Regions from separate parts of the Homo sapiens genome. Here regions 1 and 3 are each linked to region 2. Evidence: promoter capture Hi-C in 16 types of primary human blood cells and fetal thymus (Javierre and others, 2016). All regions are on one chromosome and are shown on one strand. The core of a region is centred on a gene start or on the middle of the fragment in contact, and the rest is flanking DNA. Distances in the headings are between cores, read along the strand shown.

Region 1 (4,680 bases), core at 364-2,863, 740 kb before region 2:
CTCAGAGAAAGCTCCTCATGTAGTTGTTTAGTATGAAAGGTTTTTTCTTGAAAAGGTTAAAAAAGTTCTAATCAACTTTTGTACATTATGTAGAACTTCATTTTCTAAACTCTGCAAAAGAAAGTTTCATATTTAATGGGGAATCATGAATTATTCCATTTATTATCTACTTCCTCCTTTCAAAGACATGATCTGGATAAAAGGCGGGGTGAATAATTTCAAAAAATACAATACATTTTTAATGGGAAGGTGCAAACTACAGATTCTCATGACTATTAGCAAGTGTAGAGGAAACAGAATTTTACTTGCAAAACTTGTCAAATTCTTGCAAAGATAAAATGTATGACATACTTTAGTAAAAAAAAATGCAGTGAGCTGAAGTTTTCTTTATAATGCAACTTGTTTTTACTAAGTTTGTTCTTTATATTCTCCAGCTTTTCATTTTTAATAAAAGTTTGATATTTCCCTGAATGTATATGGGAAGTTGATAGTTCTTTTATTTATAATGCTGTGTAGAAAACTAAAAGAAAATTTTAAATGATGTTATTTGAGAAAAAGTTTTCCAAACAATAAAATTTCAAAAAATGTGGAGGGTATCATAGAATTATGTTTCAAAAAACAGAGTGTCAGTGTGAAGATGGGTGGTTTTAAAAAGAAGAACACAACAGAGTGAATATCATATTCTATGGAGTTTTTTGTTAATAGAAATTATAAATACAAATTTAGACAAAAATGATCATTTGATGAGTGAGTATGATGATATTTACATGTATATTTAGTCCACTCTTTGTAGTCCTGTGATATGAAGCTCATTTTTTGTTTCCCTCCTCTTTTCCTCATGTTTCTTCTTGTTATATTAGGACACATAATACACCAGAATTGTATTACTTATTTGAATTTATTTTGTATCATTATAACTCAATTTAAAAGCTAAGATTATTTCCAGGGTTTATTTTTCAGCTTAGGTTTAACTGGTTTTTCTATAGTAGAGAAGTACAGTGTAATCTGAAAGAAAAGAACAAGAATCCATATGATTTGCTGCAGTTAGCCAAAGGTGTTTGGAGTCGTGTTGTAATCCTGGCTTGAAAATACTGTCCCTGAAAAATTCTCCTTTAACACTCATTTAATATCTTTCCATGTGGAATCTTTGGCTTAAAATTTTTCTACACAAATTATTTTGTATAAAGTTTGAATTTCTCAAAGGAGTTTGGAAGTAATAAGACTTTTATCAAAATTGCATATGTAATTAACCTCATATAAGGAGCTTTTCTTCCAATCCTTTTTTACCAGACTACTAGAGAAGTTTTCATTAAAGGCAGTTACTTTTTGTGAGATCAACAAATGTTTCTAAAACAAACAGTATTTTTTTAAGTCTTAAAAATGTGTATGTTTGAGGTTTTTCGATAAAGAAAATGAATGATGCTGAAGTGCTGTGCGACAGCTACCGTGGGTAACTATTTTGGTAATACTTTCTATTGTCTGATGAATAGTTTATCCATTCCTGGTTGATAACAATTACTGTACTTGAAATATTTGATTAAATGGGAATCACTTGAATAAATAACTTTGAGCAAGTGGGCACATAAAAAATGCCTTTATGTTATTAAGGAAATTATCTAAAGTTATTGTAAAGATTATAGTCCTGTACTATTTGCTAAATAAGCATGCTTTCCTCTGATATTTGTTAATAATCATCAATGAAAATATAGTTTGGTTTATAAACATTTGTTGATCTCACAAAAAGTGACTGCCTTTAATGCAAAACATCAGTTCTATCAAAATAGAATCTGTGAAATAATTTCTGTCCCATTCTACACAAATATTTCATAACTTCTAAAATATAATCACCCATGTTGAAATGAATTCTTATCAGGCTATTGAGAGAATCTTTACTGATCAAATTTTTAGATATTTTTATTATTCGTTGAGTTATATTAGTGATAGTACTATTTACAAAATGCCAGAGGATAAACTTTATTCCTTAATTATTACTAGTTTTTTTCTTAAAAAATAAAGGTTGAACTTAGGTTAGTTTTTTCAAAATAGCATTTTTCAATTTGTATATATACTTTTAAAATGTTGAAATTCTGACTATGCTTTTCTTTATTATTAATAGATAAAAAATCCAAAAATACAAAGCAAAACTTGCATATGTAACAGTTTCGTCTAAAGTTCAAATTAGTAAACGCGTAACTGTTTTGATAATCACATAAAAATTCTATTCCATAAAATGTTCTGGGGGGCAGATTTTATTTATGTATTTAAAATTGTTAAATTGGCCTATCTACCTAAATTGAGTCTAAATCAAAACTGAAACAGAATGCTATATTAATATTTATATTCTGACTTTTTGGTAATATTTTTATATTGCTTAATTTTTTCAGTTCATATAATAAAAGATGAAATCATTTATTTGGATAGCAATTCTAAGAAATTTTTAGAAAAATTATAAATTAATATATTGCATTAGACAATCTCTTTGGAATGAAGCTAAAATGTTATGTGACTCTTTACAAGGAGAATTTTATATAATTTTTATATATAATTTTATATAAATTGTGTATCATATAATTTAATATAAGTAATATAATATAAAATTTATATAATGCATAATTTTATATAAATATATAATATATAATTTATATAATATCTAATTATATATTATAAATAATATATAATGTATATAATATCTAATTGCATTTTATAAAAATTACATATAAATTATATAAATTTTACAGCAATATATAAAATATATAATGGTAAAATATAAGCATATCACAATATTTATACTTTCAAATTATATTTTTAATCTCTCAAAGTGAATATGGTCTATAAATTCTGCAAAAAAATCAAGATCATTATAATGGCTGTGATATTTAAATTATATGATTAGTCATAACATAATATTATAAAAAGAGCTTTTTAATTAAAATATGTTAAATTATAATACATTGAAATGATTGTATTGTGTTCATTATATGTTCAATATTCTTTAAGGAGGTTCTGAAATGTTTAGAGGACATTAATAACAATGTTCATTTTAATGATGAATTCTAGTTGTAATGACTATAATGAAAAATTCTTCTGATCCAAGTATAATAAATTCTACTTTTTGAGATGTTAACATGTAATAATTAAATTAAATCATATAGAAAATAAGCAGTAGTCATATTATTTATGATTGGTGGATGTATGAGATACAAAATGATTTGTTTTAGAGAATCCATCATAATTTAAAAGTGCTTTATATATATATTTTATTTGGATTAATAAAAATTTCTCATTAAATATGTGAATGTTTAAGTATAAAATATTTTTCTAATTTTTCCAAAAATAAGAATTGGATGCTTTGAAAACTGTTAATCTATGGTATGCCACCTGCCCTATTTACATTTTTAACAGTTGAATATTTGTTAACTGATCTCATAGACAGCTACATGTTTTGCTGTTACCAGATGGATGAGATAGAATACCATGCATAACTTTACATTTATCTTCTTTGTCAACTTATTTGCATATCAATTAAAATAATATCTGTATTAGGATGGATAGTGAAAGTTACCAAATTTACATGATGTAACTGCAGTTTGCTAAATTTCCAGTAGATGCCCCCAGAGACCAGTCAACTCATTGGAAATCATGTAAATTTAAAGACCTTTTTATATTGAAACTTCTTTCTTGCTATATTTTGAAGTGCATGGAAAATAAATTAAGAATTCTAAAAATCTTAACTCACTAATCTTTCTTACAAAATACATATATGGCTGTTGGTAGCCCAATTCTTAATCATTGCTAATCAATACTATGACTAATAATTGTGAACAACCTAAGCATTAAGAAAAATGCTTTCAGTTTTCATTATAATTCTATATGGCTTTAAAGTAAAAAGTCATTTTAAACACTCTCAAATTTTTTGTCTTTTTAACTTCTCTCTCTTTATACATTTATATGGCTAGGAAAATGCTATATTGTTATTTTAGCTTTTGGGAAAAAATAGCATTTTTACCAAAAACTATAAAACATAAACAACTCATATAATTTTTATCAGTTAGTAGGTGTATGTCAAGAAATGACTTTTTAAATTCTGATTACGATATACATAATATCTATCTACACCGAAAAAGATAGGTAAGAATAGTGATTCACTTTATTCCAAGGAAATTATATTAACTGAAGCTATTTAAGTATTAATTTAAGTCAATGTAATTATCCCGTAGGTGATTCCAGTAACATTTATCCCTACCATATGAATGTAAAACTGTTATAACTGACACATGGATAACCCACTCGTGACTTATAAATATTAACTTAATGAAATAAAAGTATTATCCTGACTTTTGATTAGATGTTACATATCTTTTGATTTTATCTTTGTCAGATTAAATGAAAATTTTATGATCTTGTTTTAAAGTACGGTTTTTTTATTGAACCGCTTTTGAAATATTTCACTGACTGTAAAGCTTCATCTTGATTCCATAATTCAGTTTATCCTATGAAAAAAATATGTTAAATATATCAGTCATATAATTGAATATACAATAATGCCTTTGATTTTAAAAATTCACCTAATAACTTATACAAAGACCTACTTAGGTGGTTTTATATTACTTGTTAGATTTATTAGTTTAGGTGCAGAGAAAGTAAAATAAATTGTAATTTCTATTCATTGCATCTATTCAT
Region 2 (4,657 bases), core at 2,152-4,651:
CTATTAAGTCAAAGGCAGTATATTTTCTGTCAGAAGCTACTGAGAGGTCTAGTATGAAAACATCTGCAAAGTGCCCTGCAGGGAATTTTTTTCTTTTTGGTAAAAGAATGAAGAAAAAAAAGAACTTTTATTAACCCAACTATGTGCTACCAGAGTTAGATTCATAAGCAATTTACAGAGAAACCCTGTGAGGTGGAAAGCAAAGCCAAGGCTGACCCCAAAGCCCAAGCCCTTTCACAGGTACAGCTGCCCTTCTGAATATGTTAAGATTCTCTGGTTAAATCTTGGGGAATCGCAATAGAGGCGGTGAGAAATCCAGTTGGAGAGTAGCAGCACTGGGGAAAAAAAATACCTAACGTGACAAAGTGCTGTAAATTAGCCTCAGAGAAATACAATGGACAGATGCAAAGAAATCTATCTCATGTGATTTGAGTTATGCCACTGAGCAGAAGACATGAAAATCCTTATTTCTTGGCAATGTTTACCTGTAAGTTTTTACCTACTCCTGGCGTATTTACAGTTTAGGGTGAAAAGAATTTGAAAAGCAAAAATTGCAAGGAAACATTACAATCCAAGTAATTGCAGCACTAGACTAATAGATCAGTGTCTGAGGAGGCGATCAGATAGGCAGAAGAACAGCTCTCTAAATCCTCCCTTCGGACACAGTGGAGTTCCTCGCTGTCTTTTGAAGGCTTCATACCAATCCCTCCTTCCTCGGCAGCAGGGGCTACTTCTCTCCCTCTCTCCCAAAGGCGAAGTGAGTCCACTCAGAGCACCTCTTTCCACTCTCAGTCATGGCCCTTATCAGGCTGTTTCGTAATTTTTCCATTTGCTGACTGGTCTCCCGTGCGAATTTAAAGCTTCTTGGGGACAGGGAAAATATCTTACTCACTTGGTGTCCCTGGTACCTAAGCACACTACCCAAGTCTGTGGAAGAGACATTCAAGGCCAGTGCCAAGCAAAATCCCTGTCCAGCCCCCATCAGCCCAAACTATGGATACAGTGACCAGTAGGATCATGCATGTACTTCAACAAATACTAACCAAGTAATCTCTATTATGAGCACCAAAAACTGAGAAAACAACTGTTTGTGTCATTCAAGAACCAGCTGTTTCCAAATCTAGAGATGCTTGTTAAAATGCAGATTTTCCCGAAGTCTACTCAGGTAAAGGCACTGTATTTTACATTTTATAAAGTTCTCCAGATAATTTCTATAAGCAAATGGTTCTCATCTAGGGGCAGTACCCCCAACCCTGCCCCACCCTGCTCAGGGACACTTGGAAATATCTGGGGACACTGAACTGTCATGACTGAGGAAGGTGGTGCTACTGCTATCCTAGTGGGTAGAGACCAGGGATGTTGCTAAACATTTTACAACTAACAGGACGGCCCTCCACAACAAAGGACTGCCCAGCACAAAATGTCAATGGAAGTTGACAATCTCTGCTATAAGCCCTAAATAAAAAAATAAATAAAAATAAATAAAAATAAAAAAAATTGTTCTTTGGTTTTAAAGTGAGGAGTTTTAAAGAAATCTCCAAGGTACCGCAAATGATAACCAAAAGCTACATTCTAACCAAATGATGGAGTGTAGGTTATAATTAATCAGGGGTGTTTTATTCTAACATATAGGGAACCTGAAAACAACTGTCAAAATCTTGAAGGGGTTGCCATTCTAAATAATGGATTTCTAGTCTTGGCCATGAAAATGATCACTTTCCAATTTTTCAGTGTTACAGGTCTCTCCGATGATTAAAATCTGTTAGTACACTTTTAAAAGGAGAGAATAACCCAGGTGATGTAAACAAATTTTTAAATTCTAGTATCTACTATGCCACAGTTCAGTGAGAGACTGCCTGATACAGCACAGAGTACTCACTTGGGAGGCAGGAAACCTGAGTTCTAATCCCAGCTCTGCTACTTAATTAGCTGTGTGACTTGGATAACTCATAATTTCACTTCTCATGGCCCCAGGTTCCTCATCTGCAATATAAGGGAGTTATGCCAGATGACCACTTAAGTCTCTTCCTGCCCTAACATTCAGGTAGTCTAACGCATTAACGCCAGTGACACACACACACACACACACACCACAAACACAAGCCTCTCAAGATTTCTGCACAATATTTAAGCAAGTAAAATTACCAAACATCTCTAAAACTTTTTTGGAAAACACTGCAGCAATGTGTATGAAGGCCTAAAACAGACCTTTCAGATGACAGCATCTAATCTGATAATTTCACTTCTGAGAATCTAGTCCAAGGAAATAATCTAAAAAATAGGGGGAAAAGAGTTTATCAAAGCACTATCTGGGATGCTAAGATGATGTAAAAATTCAAAAACAATCTAATGTCCCACAATCGGGAAATGACTGAATAATTTACGGGACCTAAACTGGGACCCACAATGATAGGACAATCAAAAGAAGATACAAAATTAGAATAATATTTAGGAAGAGTTTTTAAATGGAAGTGGAAAACTACACTGTTAAGTGATTAAACATGTACACTCTTAGTTCAAGTAGAAGCTAGCACATACAAGAGAAAATGATCGTAGGTGAAAGGGTTCAGTGAATATTATTTTCTTCACTAAAGTCTTCTATGTTTGCAATTTTCTACAATAGTCACGTATTACTAAGAGCAGTGGGGCAGGGTAATCCGCATCATCTTAATCCTACACACCTTAAAAATGCCTGCTATGCAGGTGTGCGGACACGCATACGCACAGAAAACCTTGGGCGATAGGACTTAAGACCATACAATCGGGTTCCTCGACCTGACAACTTGGTAAGACAGGCGAGTCCAGCCTTTAATTCCTGTGGTCAGGCGCAGCCACCCCGATGTAGGAGAGGGTTCGCAATTCCCTGAAGCCCTCCTGGAAGACAGGCGAAGCCTAGGCCTGGGTTCGGGATCCGCTTTCCCGCCGAATCTTGGGATTAGCGTCGGGGCTCCCTGGGGAACTTCAACAACCTGAATTGATCTCGGACGCCAACTCGGTAGGAGCCGGGACGGTGCCGCTCCTCTCCGCGCAGTCTAGGCGCCTCGCTGAGGGCGGTCCCGGCGCCCACCATCAGACCTCTCCCAGCCATTCCATGCGCGGAGAGCTTGGACGCGGCATTTCGCGGGGACCCGCCACCCAGCGGTCCCTTCCCGGAGCCCCAGCCTGTTCACCGCAGGCCCTTTCCGGGGCTGCCTCGCCCGGCCTAGGGCCGCTGCAGCCGCCGCTCCACAGCGCGACTGAACACTGGGGCACCGAACCTGGGGCTGCGCCCGGCCCCGTCGTCGGCCCGCGCAGCGGTGCGGCTCACCTCGCCGGCGGGAACCAGAACCCTCACTCCAGGCGCCCCACGAGCCCGGCCGCCGCGGATGATCCCAGCCAAAACCGAAAGCGCCGAGGCAGGGGCACTTTTCTGCCTCAGCCAATCAGTGCTCTTCTCTGCTACGGCAGCCCGCTGGGGCCGAAAAAGCCTGTCAGCACCAAAGCGCGCAAATCCAAGATTCCTGGTTTGTCTAGTAGCAAAATTGGTGCAGTGGAGTTCCTCTAACAGAAATCTGAGTACAAAACAAATACAATACAAAACAAAAACAAAATTCCAGGAAACTAGAAGTGATCTTTTGGGCAGGATTTATTTACAGAAGTGTAAAAAATAACTTGAAGTCATAGGAAACTGGAATTTACTGTTTAAGTAACGGCATTGTGTACCCAGAAACGTCCTTGAATAGTTTAAAGCAAATAAATAAATAAATGAAACACCTCAAGTCTTTAAATCTACCTCTGGATATTGATTAAATGTGTGAAGACTTAAGCCATTTTAGCAAGAGACTGTTTCCATGGCAATGTTAATTGATACAAAAATAATCAAAATCACTCAAGTAACTCCAAATTATAATGACATTAATTGTGTTACATTACTAGTTCCTATTGGAAATGGTGTGCAGACTTATTTCAGTGCTACTATGGGAACTTGGTTTGGAATTTTGCATGAATTCTCAATACTCTTTCTATTAATGGAATTGAAAGGGAAAAAGAAGAGAACTGTTACACCAGGACTTGATTCGTTTTTCCCCCTCCACATATACTCTCATCAGTTGAAAACTTATACTTTAATTATATTTATGATTTGTAACACTATACACAGAGTGATAAGATCTTTCAACACAGATCCTTAACCCCATTAGGTGTTATAAAATCTAAGATGCAAAATTTTTTTCGAAGATAAAGAGTTCCTCCCTTGTAAACTTCTTTTGGTTAAAGGCAGAAGAAATGAACTTTTGATTGATATCAGGGACAGAAAACAACTGGATATGATTTGTTAAAGAATAGAGACTTCCTTATATCCTTCTATAAAAGTTCAGTTTGGATAAAGACCGAACAGTTACTGATTTATTGTGAGGGCTGTATTTGAAGTTCTTGCAATATAAAATACAATGTAAATAAAAATTTTAAGAAAAGTACCATTTAAATCAAATAATTACGTGCAAAGAACAAACATAATAGGATAAAAAGCCCTGTTCCTAAAAACTTTCTTTGCAAACGACATCAAATTGCACATTCCTTACTGATTGTTTAAATTATTAAAAAAAAAAAGAAAATTTTTGATTCAAACTTCTTTCCCTTTCCTACAGAGCCCTAATCGAGCCGTTAACACTAGTGTGGT
Region 3 (4,452 bases), core at 1,931-4,430, 910 kb before region 2:
TGCCGTGTTAGCCAGGATGGTCTCAATCTCCTGACCTCGTGATCCGCCTGCCTCGGCCTCCCAAAGTGCTGGGATTACAGGCGTGAACCACCGCGCCCAGCCCATAAATAAATAATTTTTTTAGAGATCATACTATTGCAACTAAAGAGAAAATTTGCTCTCTTTCGACCTCTCTATTCACATGGTCTAAGATTTCTTTTCATATTGCAGTAGGTGGAATGGAGTAAAATGACCACAGTAGGGCTGTAGGGAGAATGCTTCCAAGATAGTGAAACACTGATGGGTAATAATTGGTAAAAGCTCGGTTGTTTCAGGGAAAAAATTTTCATCAGGCTTGGAAATACACATGCAAATGGCACAGAGTTCCAAAATGGGCTGTTGCACCCAACACAAAAGAAGACCTGTGAGCGCATGCATGTGCAGGCATATGTATGTGTGCACGGGTTTTCTGCTGCCAAAGGCTTTATATCTTGGTGGCACCCAGATGGTGAGGAGGAAGTAGTCAGAATTGCCTTGCTTGACTAACTCTCCATTTTGATGATCAAACCCCAAACAAACCCAAAGCTTTGGTCTGGGGGCAGGGTTGTCACTTTTAAATATAACAAAATAAACTACCCTCCCTCTCCCCCCAAAAGCAGCCATTTGTAACTTGGACATAGATTCAGGGCCCATGAGAGCAGAAAGGCTCCTAGAGCTACTGAGACCAAAGCCTCCAGGTGGCGGAGGAAGCGTCAGGCCCAGGTCAGCATGTCTTTTCAGAAATTAGTCAGGAAGACTATGCTGGCAAAGGCAGCTCCTATGCAGACCTGTGTCACCCTTCTCTTCAGAGTAAGTCTCTAGTCCTTGCCTTTTCTTCTTATGGACTCTCCTTTTCCTCCCTCTTCTCAGGGGGAAAATGATCTCAAAGTCACAACATGAATATTTGCTAGGTTTGATTTTGGCAAAATTAAATAACCCCTTGGTTTAAGCCAGGCCACAGGAGAGCTGTGTGTTTTGCCTGGTGTAGGCTGGAGCCTGGTGAATTGTGCTTTCGTGTTGTGCTATTGCTTGTATTGAGAGACACTAGCAAGGGGCCTTATAAAGCCTGTTACTTTGTTCACTGTAGGGATTCTGCAGGCTGCCATCCATACAATCAGGCCATTGGCGAATGCTTTCACATAACTCATGGGAATTAATATTTTAAGTTTTATGATCTGCGAAAAATCATGTTTCTCCCCAACAATTGTGAATTTTTTCCACTATAAATTTTGTAACTGAACATTGTCTGTTTATTGCTTAGGCTGTTGGGAAGCATTTGTCTGAGCTTGCAGGTTCAGTTTCCTTATCTGTAAAATGAAGATAATAATAACGTACCTCATAGCTTTACTATGAAGAAAGATAATGGCTTTATTTTGAAGAATAAATGTTTTTTTCTACAAAGATAAAGAAGGTAAAACATGGTGCATCTTTTTTAGCCCATGGTGAATGTTTAATTAATGTCAGTTGTTATGATTTATGCATGTGACAACAATAATGTATCGGTAAGCAGTAGTGATATGTCAGGCACTCTGATAGATGCTGGAAATAAGGAGCAACCTAGACCCAGCTCGAACTCTCCAAGAGTGCATTCTCAAACAGCAAAAGCAAGCTGGTAAGTAAATAATGAAGTGTGACAGGTGCTGTGACGAGGAAGGACAGGTGGGAACATGCTTCGGGAGCACCTACTCCAGTCTGAGGAGCATGACCCAGAACTGGAGGAAGTTTAAGTGCAAGTTCAGCTGGTGGAGAGGCAGAGGAGCCTCACTGAAAAAACTGTGCAGGAAAGGACATATTTGAATTGTTGAACGAGGTCTGGTGTGACCAGAGGGCAGAGTAGCTGGTGGGGTGCTGAGACTGCCAGAGAGGTGGACAGCAGTGAGGTGCCGGGTCAGGCTAGTATTATAAGCTACACTGAGGAATTCTGACTTTATCTTATGTATAGGGGGCAGTCATTAACATGTTGAAGCAATGATAAGACCTCATCTGATTTGCTTTTTAGAGGTATCACTCAGGTATGGAGACTGAGATTAGAGGAGGGCTAGGTGGGAGTTGAGGAGATGAATTGGGCATCTCTTGAGCATTGGTGCTGGGGACTGGACTAGAGTCAGGGCATCCATCCAGCCAAAGTTCCACCTTCCACTTTCCAGCAACCATACAGGAGTGAATGGTTTGCATTTATATATATTTTGGAATATTTCCTTCAGCATTAGTTTTCTTGTCTATTTTCTTTTTTGCTCCAATTTCAGCTATTTATTATATCCTGTGTAGTGTGTGTCTTCAGGTATGCTTTAAATTCTTTTGTGAAATCAAAATGTGCAGGAAAGAAGGAATGAAAGACGGAAGAAAGAAAGGAGGAGAGAGGCTGGTGATACTCATGAGCTGGTACTCCCTTCTTTACATACATTTATTTCAAAATAACTATAAAGCATCTGTCCTAGTTTTGACCCGATTTGAGGGAAAGTCTTTATATCAGACTCTGTGTATATTTTTTACCATTAAATGCATTATAACCTTGTTGAGGATGTGACTCAGATGGTGTTACCATTGTAGGACAGATATGAGCTTTCCTCCTCTGTTAAACTTCTGACCATAATTCAAACACCTGCGTATTTAAACTGGTGCAGTCAGAACAAGTTTCTGCACTCATCACTTCTTCACCCAGCAAGGTATGTGAAAGAAGATTTGTGCAGCCAGTTGGTACTAAATTGCATAATAGGTTAACCTGAGCCCTTTGAATTCAAACAAAAGAAGTTCTCAACCTGATTGGAATTAACCTACACTGACTTTCTGCTTCATCTTTCCTAAAGTGAAGATGATACCGATCGGCAGGCGGGGAGCCTGATGGATGTTAATGGGGGGTTTTCAAGTTTGTCTTGCTTTTCTTAAACTATTAAGAAAGAACAAAAAACATTATTTAGAGTGGAATCAGTTTCCAAGAAGGGAAAAAAGAAAACTGAGAATTTATTATTAAAGAAAGAAATGGAGCCAAGGTGAAAAAAAGAAAAAAAAAAAAAGGCCTTCTCACATCTCCTGGCCAGGTGCTCCGTGCATATAAATGTTTCAAGTTAAGCTTTAAGATCAAGGGAAAGTCTGCAGGGAGCCTTGTTTCCTAGAGGTCTGCTTGCTAGAGCTGCTCCCGAATACGGGCTGCCCATTTTTATTTGGTTATTAAGGATTAAAGCAGGCGACAATTCTGGAATGGTAGTTCCTTGGTTTCCATTGACTTTGTACAAGAGAGTGAAAAGCAAGCTTCCAAGGGAGGGTTTGCATATGTATTTTGGGCTATCAGCTCGCCCCCTTCCCTGTCATCTTGTGTGTATGTTTAACATGAAATTGCCCTTCCTCTCATGAACTCACACTACAAGAAAGCTGCCTCGTTGCAACGATTGAGAATCTCTGTGCCTCTCAGAAATCCTCCTGGTTTTCACAGGAGTGTGGAGGGAAGATGAAAGGAATTTCACATTAGATTGCTGGTTGCTCCAGATACTGCAGGTTAGCAATTGCCCAGGTTCTCTGGGCTTTCAGCCTCTGAATACATGATTAGGAAGGCAACCCATCACTCTGTGTCCATATCTTTAAATTTTCCTTTTTTCTTGTTAGTTTTACAGCCTGCCCTCAAATCTAAAGCCCGTCTGAAGTTACTTTAGTAAAGTGACTAAGTTTAGTGATAAAACAACACACACCTGAAGAGAATGCCTGATCGTCCTGGTGGGTAATGGGGTCATGAGTGTCAGTTTTAGTAACAGTCGTTATAATAAAAGCAGAGATGAAGAGCTCAGCCTTCCAAAGTCACAAAATAACAGTACAATTTGCTGATTTAATCCAAGCAATGTTTTAAAAACAGAACTGGAAACTCAGAGTTTATAAAGACTTACACCCTCTGTCATCAACATTTTTCAATCCCACAGGAGCCCAGGAGGTTCAATGTATAAACTAAAAGGCTGAATATAAATAAAGTGACTTGTCCCGTGTCACATGACTGGACTAACAAATCATGGAATCTGAAATGAAAACTGTTCGGTTTCACTTCAGTATTGTAATATCCAGTGCCATTATTGTGATTTCGATGCTGCATGTTGTTCTTAATCATTGCCAGGTTTTGCAGCACGGAAGGCTGCATAACATGAATGGTGAAAGATCAACCAAAAACATGTAATTCTGGAACAGTGTCTCTTATTGTATGTTTTTTTAATTGAAATTTTTATATGCTCAGAGCCGAATTTATTTTCTATTATAACCTCATAGTTTTATGTTCATGGCTACTCAATAGCATGGTTATTTTAAAAGCAGTAATCAATAATTATATGTCCATAGTCATTATTACCTAATATGGTAATGAACACAGTTAAAGACTATAGACTTGCAGTTTCATCCAGAGGTTACGTCTATCTTCTGTTAAAATGTGAACTTCTCTTTGATGTGGAATAATAGTTG

Evidence for each region. Contacts are between HindIII fragments. The CHiCAGO score rates a contact against its expected background, and 5 or more counts as called.
Region 1: a fragment that was not itself captured here is called in contact with the fragment with the promoter of LSM6 in region 2 in 1 of 17 cell types (M2 macrophages); the score reaches 6.3 in M2 macrophages.
Region 3: a contact is called between a fragment that was not itself captured here and the fragment with the promoter of LSM6 in region 2, in 1 of 17 cell types (total CD4 T cells). The highest score is 5.3, in total CD4 T cells.

The regions. Positions count from the first base shown.
Region 1 is chr4:146,915,595-146,920,274 of GRCh38, reverse strand. All of the region lies in intron 4 of TTC29 (tetratricopeptide repeat domain 29), which reads left to right. Among named protein-coding and RNA genes, the nearest start is that of TTC29-AS1, 16 kb to the left of the region's middle. The HindIII fragment of the contact is 5,699 bases long and covers 1-4,462 here.
Region 2 is chr4:146,174,462-146,179,118 of GRCh38, reverse strand. LSM6 (LSM6 homolog, U6 small nuclear RNA and mRNA degradation associated) reads right to left here and starts at 3,401. Exons shown (of 4, transcript NM_007080.3): 1 at 3,308-3,401. RefSeq lists a silencer at 3,192-3,251. The HindIII fragment of the contact is 3,935 bases long and covers 863-4,657 here.
Region 3 is chr4:147,087,914-147,092,365 of GRCh38, reverse strand. The region is part of intron 2 of LOC105377476 (a long non-coding RNA gene); the gene reads right to left. Among named protein-coding and RNA genes, the nearest start is that of TTC29, 140 kb to the right of the region's middle. The HindIII fragment of the contact is 179 bases long and covers 3,091-3,269 here.